Regions from separate parts of the Homo sapiens genome. Here all the other regions are linked to region 1. The links are contacts of gene promoters, found by promoter capture Hi-C in human tissues and cell types (Jung and others, 2019). All regions are on one chromosome and are shown on one strand. Each heading gives the region's core, a stretch centred on a gene start or on the middle of the fragment in contact. The rest is flanking DNA. Distances are from core to core; before and after follow the strand shown.

Evidence for each region. The method cuts DNA at HindIII sites, captures the fragments that hold promoters and counts their contacts. A contact is called where the count stands out against the background at its distance.
Region 2: a fragment that was not itself captured here is called in contact with the fragment with the promoter of ZBTB18 in region 1 in 1 of the 25 tissues and cell types used here (dorsolateral prefrontal cortex).
Region 3: a fragment that was not itself captured here is called in contact with the fragment with the promoter of ZBTB18 in region 1 in 2 of the 25 tissues and cell types used here (dorsolateral prefrontal cortex and hippocampus).

Annotation. Positions count from the first base shown.
Region 1 is chr1:244,049,876-244,053,523 of GRCh38, reverse strand. It overlaps ZBTB18 (zinc finger and BTB domain containing 18), which reads right to left and starts at 2,241. Exons shown (of 2, transcript NM_205768.3): 1 at 2,080-2,241. The coding sequence starts at 2,092. RefSeq lists enhancers at 965-1,466, 3,183-3,232 and a silencer at 2,913-3,002. The HindIII fragment of the contact is 6,539 bases long and covers 992-3,648 here.
Region 2 is chr1:243,531,871-243,535,763 of GRCh38, reverse strand. The region is part of intron 12 of AKT3 (AKT serine/threonine kinase 3); the gene reads left to right. Among named protein-coding and RNA genes, the nearest start is that of MIR4677, 190 kb to the right of the region's middle. The HindIII fragment of the contact is 4,559 bases long and covers 205-3,893 here.
Region 3 is chr1:243,476,955-243,480,970 of GRCh38, reverse strand. The region is part of intron 16 of SDCCAG8 (SHH signaling and ciliogenesis regulator SDCCAG8); the gene reads right to left. Among named protein-coding and RNA genes, the nearest start is that of MIR4677, 130 kb to the right of the region's middle. The HindIII fragment of the contact is 9,134 bases long and covers 1-4,016 here.

The DNA of each region.
Region 1 (3,648 bases), core at 992-3,491:
TCCTTTAACTACAGTCTCTCACTAAGAATAAGAATTTAGATCTCTTCCAGAAGAAATTTAATTAACTCTACTTATCAAATTATGTCCCACAAAACCTACAAAATAGCTTTAATTTCAAAGGGAACAACTCATATAATAAACAAAGAAAAGTCCCAAACATATCCTGGAACATACAAGAAAACTTGTTCAACCATCCTTTTTATTACTTTTGCTACCTGACTGTGCTTAGAAAGCACAGTTTAAACACACACACACACATTTGGCTGAATCAAGAAAAAAAAATGAAATTGCATAATTAGTCCAGAAATTAGCAAACAACTTACTTTTAAAGTCAGGGTGTTACAACAAAAGCCCTGTGTATAAAAACAGATGTTAATGCCTTCAGATTTGCAGGTATAGCACACATGTACGAGATCAGAAGGAGCTGCACCAACAGATGGAAAAGATCATCTTTACTATGAACAAATCCAAAGATTTTTCAAAACGAACTGAGAAAAAAGTAGTTACATTTCTTTGTAGAAACTGTACTTTCAGAATATTAGGAACCAGAGGGGCTTTACTGAACTCCGAAAATTCTCATCTAAACTTTGATCCGTTGCAAGGCAAAATGAGTTTCATATTGAAATTAATTCAAACTTTTAAAAATAAAGGCATACAGCGCTTAAATAAAACTCAAAAGCTTTACAGGTTCAACGTTTTTTTTTAAGCCTTTTTAGAAAAAGAGAACCTTTTTTTTTTTCCTGGTTCTGCCTTACCTCAGCCAACAGAAAATACTTTGTTTCAATATAATTTGATATATTTCTGTTTTCCCACTAGCTTCTATTCTTGCAAATATTCATCATTGCCCTTGTTTTGTGATGAGGGAAAGTGAAATGGAGGGAGGAGAAAGGCAAAGATGTACAAAGGGTCAGAATTCAACTGCAGTGGGTAAACTCCTGAAAAATAAAGAAGACCCGACTTCCCCTTTCCTGTGACCAGAAGCAAGCCTCCACACCACCCATCTCAGCAAGTGCATTTTGGGAATAGATACACTTAATTTAATATTCAGAAATTACTTCCTTTCTTCTTGTTCTTCTACACTTTGCCCAAGACAGACTAAAACTTTATCCTAACCCCAGACACATTCTGCAAGATGCCACTGCTAGAATAAACTAAGATTTACAATACAATCACTTTAAGTGCCCCACAGCTAACATCAATCCTAATCCTTGAGAAGGCTAAAAATAAAGATTGGAGGGCAGCTCACAAGGTAGCCGTGATCAAATTAGGAGGCTGAGAGGACAGAGAGGGACGAAGAAGGAAGCTTATAAACATCTGATCCAGCTGACTGTGGCCATATGGCAGCTGCTGCCCAGATAAAGAGATTAAGAATAGAGGAGTGCGATTACAGCTGTCTGGCCAATTCAGGCAGCTCAAATCTACAAGTTCTAAATTAGTCGCTAACACAAAAACTCCTGCAAATAATTATTGTTATGCTGAAATAAAAGATCTCTTAAATATATATTTGAAAGAGAAATGAGGAAACCAGTCAAACTATTCTCCTGGGGACAAAAGTTTGGTTTTTTTTTCTTCTTCTTAAAAACCTGCAGTTTCAACAGCACTACAGCTGTATGTTTCAGTAGTGCTGCTCAATGTTTTGAAGAATAAAGTTTCACAGAGGAATTAATTATACAACAATCTAGCTGCTTAACTAGAATAATCTTCTCATATAAGTTTGAATGCTGGATTCCAGTTTACTATTTCCCCACCACCACCACCCCAATCAAATCTAAATAGCAGTGAACAACAAAAAAGCATTTTAATCCAACGTGATTTCCAAAAGCAGCATTTTAAAGCCTTTCTTAACATTTCAAAACTTGAAATATTTGTGTATTAAAGTTATTTACTCGCTCAAGTAAAAGGGATAAAAAATTAAAACTAAACAAGCTCAAGACTTTCAACTCCAGTAAGATGTTCATTTAATACTCAATTTCATATATTATTCCTAAACTGGGTTAGAAAAGTAATGTGATTTTTAAAATTAAATAAACAAAACACCAAAACAGAAATATGCTCAATCTAATCTCTTGCTACTCCTACCTTTAGGACACATAAACCTGATTAAGTCCTTTCCTCTGAGTCCTGCTGGCTCCAGGTCTGTTACATCGGTGGAAAAAAAGCAGACTAAGAGAGACAGATGCAAAGTGGAGATGATGTTAGAGAGGAATGAGATACCTTCTCCACCACAGATCCGCACACACTAACTCCCTGTCTGTGTGTTAGAATAAAAGGCTGAGGGATGGCAGGCTGTCAGCTGCTCTGACATCATGTTCAGATGGAAATGCTACCTCCAGCTGTGCTCCTTTTAATGCCATATGCTACTCCTCTACACTCCTGCCACCAGCTTTTTCTTAGGAGAACTTTTCTCTTCTGTTAGTATAAACAAAATACTTCAAAGTCTTCCTTTTTTTCCAAACTTTCTAACAGAAGAAATTGAAAAACTCAGCATATGGAGTTCTACTGTATTTATGGAATAGCAACACTTCTGTCTTAAGTTGGTGGACTGGCTTACATACTGACAGCACACTCAAGCCACGGTGCTATTCAGGAAATCCAGATTCACTTTTATTCAACTCCAACGTTTAGTTTCTAAAGCAGTTTAGGGATATTTTTAAACCAACCCATTTGACATCTCCAGTCCCATTTCAACATTATTACCGCACTTTTTTATTTTTTTCTGCTGAGATAATGGTATACATGTCTCAAATGTTGGCAGACTTGTTCAGAACTATTACTTCAGACTGGTTCACCTTATTATTTCACTCTTATGTAATTACTTATCTACAACTACCTTCTCAGAAAAATTTCTTACACTGCCACAGTCAATGCAAATTTCAATTCTCGGTACCAACAAGCTGAAACTGCACTTTCTGAAATCCTGGAAAGTACTTCAGTTCAACGAGACCAATTAATAAACTGATACAACCTGCTCCAGTCACTTAAAATGAATGCTGCACCTGCATATCTGATCTTTCTGCTCAGAAAAAGCAGAACCTTGCCTTCCCCTTGATCTGTGTCCCTTAACAATCTTTTTTTTCTTTGGGGGGGGGTCACTCTAATGTTTATGATCACAAGAAAATCTTTGTGTGGGGGGAAGCCAGGTCTAGTAAGTTTGAGAACTTTTCAGCCAGTTTGTGGGTCTTTTCTAATAGCTGATGAAACTGTAACGCGACCCGGGCTGGGCTGACCGGTACCGGGCAGGGTGCTGCGACATCTCTGAATGTCAAATACATCTCCTCAGACTCTTGGGAGGGCGAGGGGTAGAAAAGGAACTGGGGCCTGAGGCGCCAGCGTCCCAGCCCTGGTGATAACCACTTCGTTCCCATTAGAAAGCCGTGGCGGAGAGTTAAAGAGTAACAAAACCCGACGACTCCGTCCTGTCCTTCTCGCTTTCCCAAAGTCACAAACCTAACTTTCTCCAACTTCGCGGTGAGTGACATAATTATGAACACTTAGTCCAGGAGACATCCTCGGGAGATCAATTTCTTCCCAGCCACACCACCTATTCTCCACAAATGCCCTCGACCCATTCCAATATATCAGACATTAATCACCCCATTTACCCAGTGGGGTGGGGGGTGAGTGACAGTTTAATGAGTCCCGGGCACC
Region 2 (3,893 bases), core at 1,235-3,734, 520 kb after region 1:
CATTCGATCCAGGAATTCCACTAGTAGGTATCTACACAAAGGAAGTCATTCTATACAAAAGGATACATATACTCATATGTTTATTGCAGCACAATTCACAATTGCAAAGATAGGGAATCAACCTAAGTCCTCATCAGCCAATGAGTGGATAAAGTAAATGGGATGTGCACACAGACACACCTTGGAATATCACTAGCCATAAAAAAGAACAAAATAATGTATTCTGCAGCATATAGATGGAACTGAAGGCCATTATCCTAAGTGGGGTAACTCAGGAACAGAAAATCAAATACTGCATGTTCTCACTTAGAAGTTGGAGCTAAGCTATGGGTATGCAGAGGTCTACAGAGTAGTAGAGTGGACACTGGAGACTCAGAGTGAGGGGAGGATGGAAGAGGGAGGTGAGGGATGAAAAGTCACCTGTTGGGTACAACGTACACTATTTGGGTGATGGGTACACTAAAGCCCAGAGTTTACCATTATACAATTCATCCATGTAACCAAAAACCACTGTACCCCTAAAGCTATTGAAATTTTTAAAATATATTTTAAAATAATTTTAAAATATATTTTAAAATTATTTTAAAATTTTAAATATATTTTAAAATATATTTTAAAATTTTTAATTTTATATTTTAAAATTTATGCAAGGGAGCTGATAGAAATACACTTACTTAACATGTCTAGAGGTTTATCAGTTCATTGATATTTACAAAGATCTGGCTTTTGCTTTTGTTAGTTTTTCTCCATTGATTTTCTGTTCTCTGTTTCATTGATTTCCGCTCTAATTTTAATTATATCTTTTCTTCTCCTTACTTTGGATTTAATTTTCTCTTTTTCTAGTTTTGTAACCTGAAAGCTTAGATTATTTGTTTTCGATCTTTTCTAATTTGTGCACTCAATGCTATAAATTTTCCTCTAAGCATTATTTTAACTGTATCTCACAAATTTTGATGTTTTATTTTCATTTAGTTACAAATAGTTTTAAGTTTTATTGAATTATTTAATATGTGTGTTGTTTAGAAATGTGTTGTTTAGTCTACAGGTATTTTGGAGCTTTCCAGCTATCTTTCTGTTACTGATTTCCAGTTTAATTTCATTGTGGTCTGAGAGCATACTTTTATATGATTTTTAAAAATTTGTTAAAGGTGCATTTTATGGCCCAGAACATGGTCTGTCATGATGAATGTTCTGTGTGAGAAGAGAAGAGTTACATATTCTGCTTTTCTTGGATAAAATATTCCATAATGTTGATATTAAATCCAGTTGATTGATGGTGCTGTTTAGTTCAGTTATGTCCTTAACTGACTGGGGGGACATGTTGATGTGTCCAACTATAATAGTAGAGTCATCTGTTTCTCCTTCCAGTTCTATCAGTTTTTGCCTCACGTATTTTGATTCTGTTGCTAGACACATACACATTAAGGACTGTTATGTTTTCTTGGAGAATTGGCCCAGGTATCATTATGTAATGCCCCTCTTTATCTCTGATAGTTTTCCTTGCCCTACTTTGTCTTAAATTAATATAGCTCCTCCCACTTTCTTTAAATTACTATGAGCATGCCTATCTTTTTTCCATCCCTTTACTTTTAATCTATCAGTGTCTTTATATTTAAAGTGGGTTTCTTGTAGACCATATAGTTAGATCTTGTTTTTTTTATCTACTCTGACTGTCTCTGTCTTTTAGCTGATGTCTTTAGACCACTGACATTAAAAATGATAATTGATACAGTTGGATTTCTTACAGGTTTTTTTGTTTTTCTTTTTGTTTTTGGAAACGGAGTCTCGCTCTGTTGCCCAGGCTGGAGTGCAGTGGCACAATCTGGGCTCACTGCAAGCTCCGCCTCCCGGCTTCACACTATTCTCCTGCCTCAGCCTCCCGAGTAGCTGGGACTACAGGCGCCCACCACCACGCCCGGCTAATTTTTTGTATTTTTAGTAGAGATGGGGTTTCACCATATTAGCCAGGATGGTCTCGATCTCCTGACCTCGTGATCCGCCCACCTCAGCCTCCCAAAGTGCTGGGATTACAGGCGTGAGCCACCGCGCCCGGCCTTCTTACAGTTTTTTATCCATTGCCCTTGCTGTTTCTTTGTGTGTGTGTGTATCCCATTTTTATTCTGCCTTCTCTGGTTTAATTGAGCATTGTATAAGGCAACATTTTTCCCTCTCATAACATATTAATTGAATAAATTATGCTTTTTTAACTTTTTTTAACTGCCAGCCCTTGAGTTTGAAGTATACACTTATAACTAATTCAAGTCCTCTTTTAAATAGCACCATTCATTTCACAGATAGTACAATTGCCATAGGTACTTTGCTCTTGTGTAGAATATTCTATAAATGTCAGTGATAGAATTGGCTAATAGTGTTAAGTCTTCTGCATCTTTACTGATAGCTTAATGGCTTGCTTTTATCAGTTACTAAGAGAGAAGTGAAACCTTCAACTATAATTATGGCGTTGACTATTTCTGTTTATAGTTCTATCAGTTTTGACATTTTTTTAGTTCCATGTGTAGATGCACCCAAATTGTAGTATTGTTATATCTTTTTGGTAGTTTTACCTCTTCATTATTTTGGTTAACCAATTTATTGGTGTAAAGATTACAACGGAAATAAATGAAATCGATAATTGAAAAGCAATAGAGAATAATGACCGAAACCGAAAGTTGGTTATTTGAAAAATCAGCAAAACTGACAAAACTTTAAATGGATTGACTAAGGAGGAAAAAGAGAAAAATGAAATACTGAATCAGAAATGAAAAAAGATATTACTCCTGACTTGAGAGAAATAGAAAGGGTTATAAGATGATACTCTGAAGAAGTGTATGCCACCAAGTTGAGTAACCTAGATGAAATGGACACATTCCTGGAAATACACAAATCACCAAAATGACTTAAGAATAAATTGAAAATCCAAATAGACCCCGTAACTCTTAAAGAAATAAAATCACTAATCGCAAACCTCCCACCAAAGAAAAGCCCAGGGCCAGTTGGCTTTACTGGGGAAGTCTACCCAACACTTAAAGAAAAATTAATGCCAGTCCTTCTCAAACTCTTCCAAAAATTTGAAGAGGAGTGAACACTCTCTCACTTGCTCTATGAAGGGAGCATTATCCTGATGTCAAAACTAGAGGCATTATAAGAAAAGAAAACTACAGACCAATGTCCCTAATGAATACAGATGCAAAATTTCTTAACAATACTAGCAAACCATTCAGCAGTATAATTAAAGGATTGTACACCTTAACCAAGTAGATTTATTCCAGGAATGCAAGGATGTTCAACGTATAGAAATTAATCAGTGTAATGTCCCACATTAATAGAATGAAGGAGAAAACTTGCATGATCATTTCAACTGATGGGCAGCATTTGACAAAATTCACTCCTTTATGATAAAAACAGTAAAAAGAAAAAAAAGCTAGGAATAGAAGGAAACTGCCACAACATTATAAAGGTCATATATGAAAAATTCTTGGAAAGACTGTCCTTTAAGGGATCATTTCTATAGTTTGGAAAACCCTCAGCTCACATTATATTCAATGGTGAAAGACTGAAAGTTTTTCCCCTGAGATAAGGAAGAAAACAAAGATACCACTTTCAACATTTCTGTTAACGTGACACTGGAAGCTGTAGCCAGAGGAGTTAAATAAGAGAAATAAAAAGCAATCAAATTTGCAAGGAAGAAATAAAACTACCCCTACTAATAGGTGACATGATCTTATATGTAGAAAACCCTAAAACATACACACACACGTGCCACACTTGTGCTTAGAACTAATACATTCAGTAAAGTTGCAGGATGCAAAAGCAAGCTAGAAAATACATTGTATTTCCATATACTAGCTATCAACAATGTAAAATTGATCTTAAGAAGATCAATTTCATTTAAA
Region 3 (4,016 bases), core at 1,021-3,520, 570 kb after region 1:
CACAGCTCAGTCTCCTGGTTCCACAGATGAGCCCTCTAGGCCTTCTGAACCTCTCCCATCCCATCCCATCCCACCCACCCATCCATCCATCCCACCCATCCATCCATCCACCCATCCATCCACCCCACCCATCCATCCATCCATCCATCCATCCCACCCATCCATCCATCCATCCATCCCACCCATCCATCCATCCCACCCATCCATCCATCCATCCCCCATCCATCCATCCCCCATTCATCCATCCCACCCATCCATCCATCCATCCATCCCACCCATCCATCCATCCCACCCATCCATCCATCCATCCCACCCATCCATCCATCCATCACACCCATCCATCCATACCACCCATCCATCCATCCATCCCACCCATCCACCCATCCATCCCACCCACCCATCCATCCCACCTATCCATCCATCCATCCACCCATCCATCCATCCATCCCACCCATCCCACCTATCCATCCATCCATCCCACCCATCCATCCATCCATCCATCCATCCATCCATCCCCCATTCATCCATCCCACCCATCCACCCATCCACCCATCCCACCCACCCATCCATCCCACCTATCCATCCATCCATCCACCCATCCATCCATCCCACCCACCCATCCATCCCACCTATCCATCCATCCATCCCACCCATCCATCCATCCCACTCATCCATCCACCCATCCATTCCATGACCTTCACTCTTGAAGTCCAGCTGCCAGCACTTCACATCCAGGTTCCTGCACAGCCTTCTCATAGAGTTGTGTGCTTCCACACGGCCCCCTGGAATCCATACTCCCCGCAACAGCTAGACTAGAAGGATCTCTCTAAACAAAACTGCAGCCCTGCCTCTCTGCTTGATGATTACTTATAGCTCTAATCCTAATCCTATGAGTGCTGAACTTGGAAATGGGGGACATCACAAGCTAGCTATTTTACCTTAAGCCTGAGACTGAGTATCTCTCTCAACCTCAGGTTCTCCATTTGTAAAATGGAGAAAATAAGATCTCCAGACCTGAACCATCAACTCTGAGGGTGGGGCCCAGCAGCATGTGTTTTAATAAGGCCCCTGGATGACTCTGATGAATTCTTAAGCATGAGAACCACTGGTACATTCTAATTCACAGTATTAATCACACATACGAAATGAGTTCTTCTGGAGAATAATTTTTGTGTGGCTTCAATTTTCATCATCAAAACAACCAACTGTCTACATGAAAACTCTCCTAGTCTGCTCCTAAAATACTCTGGCGTCAGTCATGAGAACTTAAGTAAATCCTGTGATCACTTTGAATCTCAGTTTCCTCACATGTGAAATGAGAGGAGAAAACTAGAAGTGAGGTCGGCAAACTTCAGACTACAGGCCACTGCCTGTTTCTGTATGATCTGCCAATTGAGAGTGATTTTTACATTTTAAAATGATTTTTAAAAATCAAAAGGAGTATAATATGTGAACACTGCATGAAATTCAACTTGCAGCGCCCCTAAATAAACTTTCATTGAAACCCAGCCATGCCCATTCATTCACGTTTTGTCTATGGCTGCTTTTGCACCATAACGGCCGAGTAGCTGCGACAGAGAACATATGGCCATGGAGCCTACAATATTTATTACCTGACCTTTTAAAGTTTGCCAGCCTCGGGGCTAGAAGATGACTACATTCTCCTCCAGCTCCATATTTCTACAATCCTATTACTTTACAGATTTTACTGTGTTCCTATCTTCAAATATCGCTAGCTATTTACATAGCAATACACCTAGTCAGCAAGCTGAAGTTTTGAAAATGCAATTACTGCTCTAGGTCATTAATTCTAGTGAATAAACCATGTTAATGTAAAGCTGTATTACTTTGTTCCAACACTTAACCATTGCTGCGGCATTTTACATAATTCCATCTCGTGAACGAGGTCCTATCAGTGAGAACAAGCAGTGTGCTGAGGCTTCCGGAACACGCTCTAGCCCATTATCCTTGCTCAGAACATTAAGGCACTTTCTTTTTTTTTTTTTTTTTTTTTGAGACAGAGTCTCACTCTGTGGCCAGGCTGGAGTGCAGTGGCACAACCTCGGCCCACTGCAACCTCCGCCTCCCGGGTTCAAATGATTCTCCTGCCTCAGCCTCCCGAGTAGCTGGGACTACAGGCACACACCACCACGCTCAGCTAATTTTTTTTATTTTCAGTGGAGTTGGGGTTTAACCACGTTGGCCAGGATGGTCTCGATCTCTTGATCTCATGATCCGCCCACCTCAGCTTCCCAAAGTGCTGGGATTACAGGCGTGACATTAACGCACTTTTAGTGGCTGGTTTGCTGTTTACATTTCCCGTGCCTAAATCTACCCTATTCAATAATGGTTTCAATAAAGGAATTCTTCCTGAGGATCGTGCAGTGGGGAGGGGGTACCACCTTCAATGAAGAGAATGTATGTCCTGTACTGCCCCTTTCCTGGCTCATTCTCTCAGATTCCTAATTAGCCTTGGCTGCCTGCAGAGGAAGAACAGGGGGCTCCTTGGGGATGCCCCCAAGTGATGGGGGGATCAAGTCCTGCTCTTCTCATGAAAAGAATCATATTATGTTAGGGCTGAGAGGCACCTTAGAGAACATTCAGTTCAGCCCATTATGGTGAAGCCAAGAAAGTATAAGTGACTTGCCCAAGGTCAGGCAGCCTGTCTGTAGTAAATCTGGCGCTAGAGCCCACATCTCTTGACTCTAAATCCAGTGAGCTTTGCAGCATCTCAAAATCCTTTTTTGAAACGCCCGACATTCTTCTATTCCATGTCAAACTTGAGAATTTAAGGGAAGGACCCTGAGAGAGAGAACACGCTGGGTAACCTTCTGGGCAGCAGCTGACACCAGTTCATTTTCCGAGGCCTGGGGGCGGGAGAAGAGGGAAATCCCTAGGCCAGGGATTCCCCAATGAGCTCAGTGAGGAGAACCAGACTTGATTTTAATTCTTTTAAAATTTCCAATCTATTGTAGACTAATGGTTTTGTGGAGTACAATAAAAAGGAGGAAGCAGTGTTTGATTGTTTTGAAAATTTCTGACTCAATTTCAGTTCTTGCCTCATCCCAGACCAGTAACAGTTTGAGGACCGTACTCTGGAAACCACACTCTGAGCCACATTGATCTCATCCACAGACTGGTGTTGGCACAAAGGATGCAAAAGAGGCCAGAAGCTTGGAAGACCATGTTGGGAAGCCCACAGTGCCACACTGGCCCCCAGTGAATGGGCCCATGGCCAAGGGGACACTTTCAGCTCTTCAAGCTCCAGCACAGCTGCCTCTGACAGGAACCTAAAGCCTCTGACAATATCACCGAGGCTCTTCAAAGACCAACTTCTTCAAACAGTGCTTCTACCAAAAAGGAGGCACAGCTTCATCTTAGGGCAATTAGATCTGTTGAATCACTACCTTGTAACCTTCTTAAAATACAAGTGCTATCGAACCAAGGCTGAGTTTGTAATACCTTTGGAAGACTGGGCATGAATAAAGGATCCTGACACCATGAAACAGGAGTTGACACGTTATGAATCTTAGACTTTGAAGAACCTAGAAGACCATCTGCCTGAAGTAAGAGTTACCTTAATCAGCTTTGTCTCAAGCAAGAACAGACTAATGGTGAGGATAGCCCCACTGTGCAAAGGAAATGGGACAGAGGAATGGAAATTGTTGAAAATCAGAATCTTTGCAGAGTAGTATCTATGCTGCATGTGGCTCAAGGCCATACAGAAGCACCAGCAGGAAAACCCACACTGCCACGCACACTGTACCCTACCTCACCCTAAAGCCGTCCTTAAAAATGGGTTTATTTGGAAATAATGTCAAACTTATAAAAAGTTGCAAGAATATTACAGAGAATACCAACATACCCTTTATTCAAATTCACCTACTGTAATAATTTTGCCCCATCTGATTGATTACGCTCTCCTGCCTTTCTCTCTGTGTGTGTGTGTGTGTGTGTGTGTGTGTGTGTGTACAGAACCAGTTGACAGTAAGCTGCATGCACCATTGCCCTTTTAT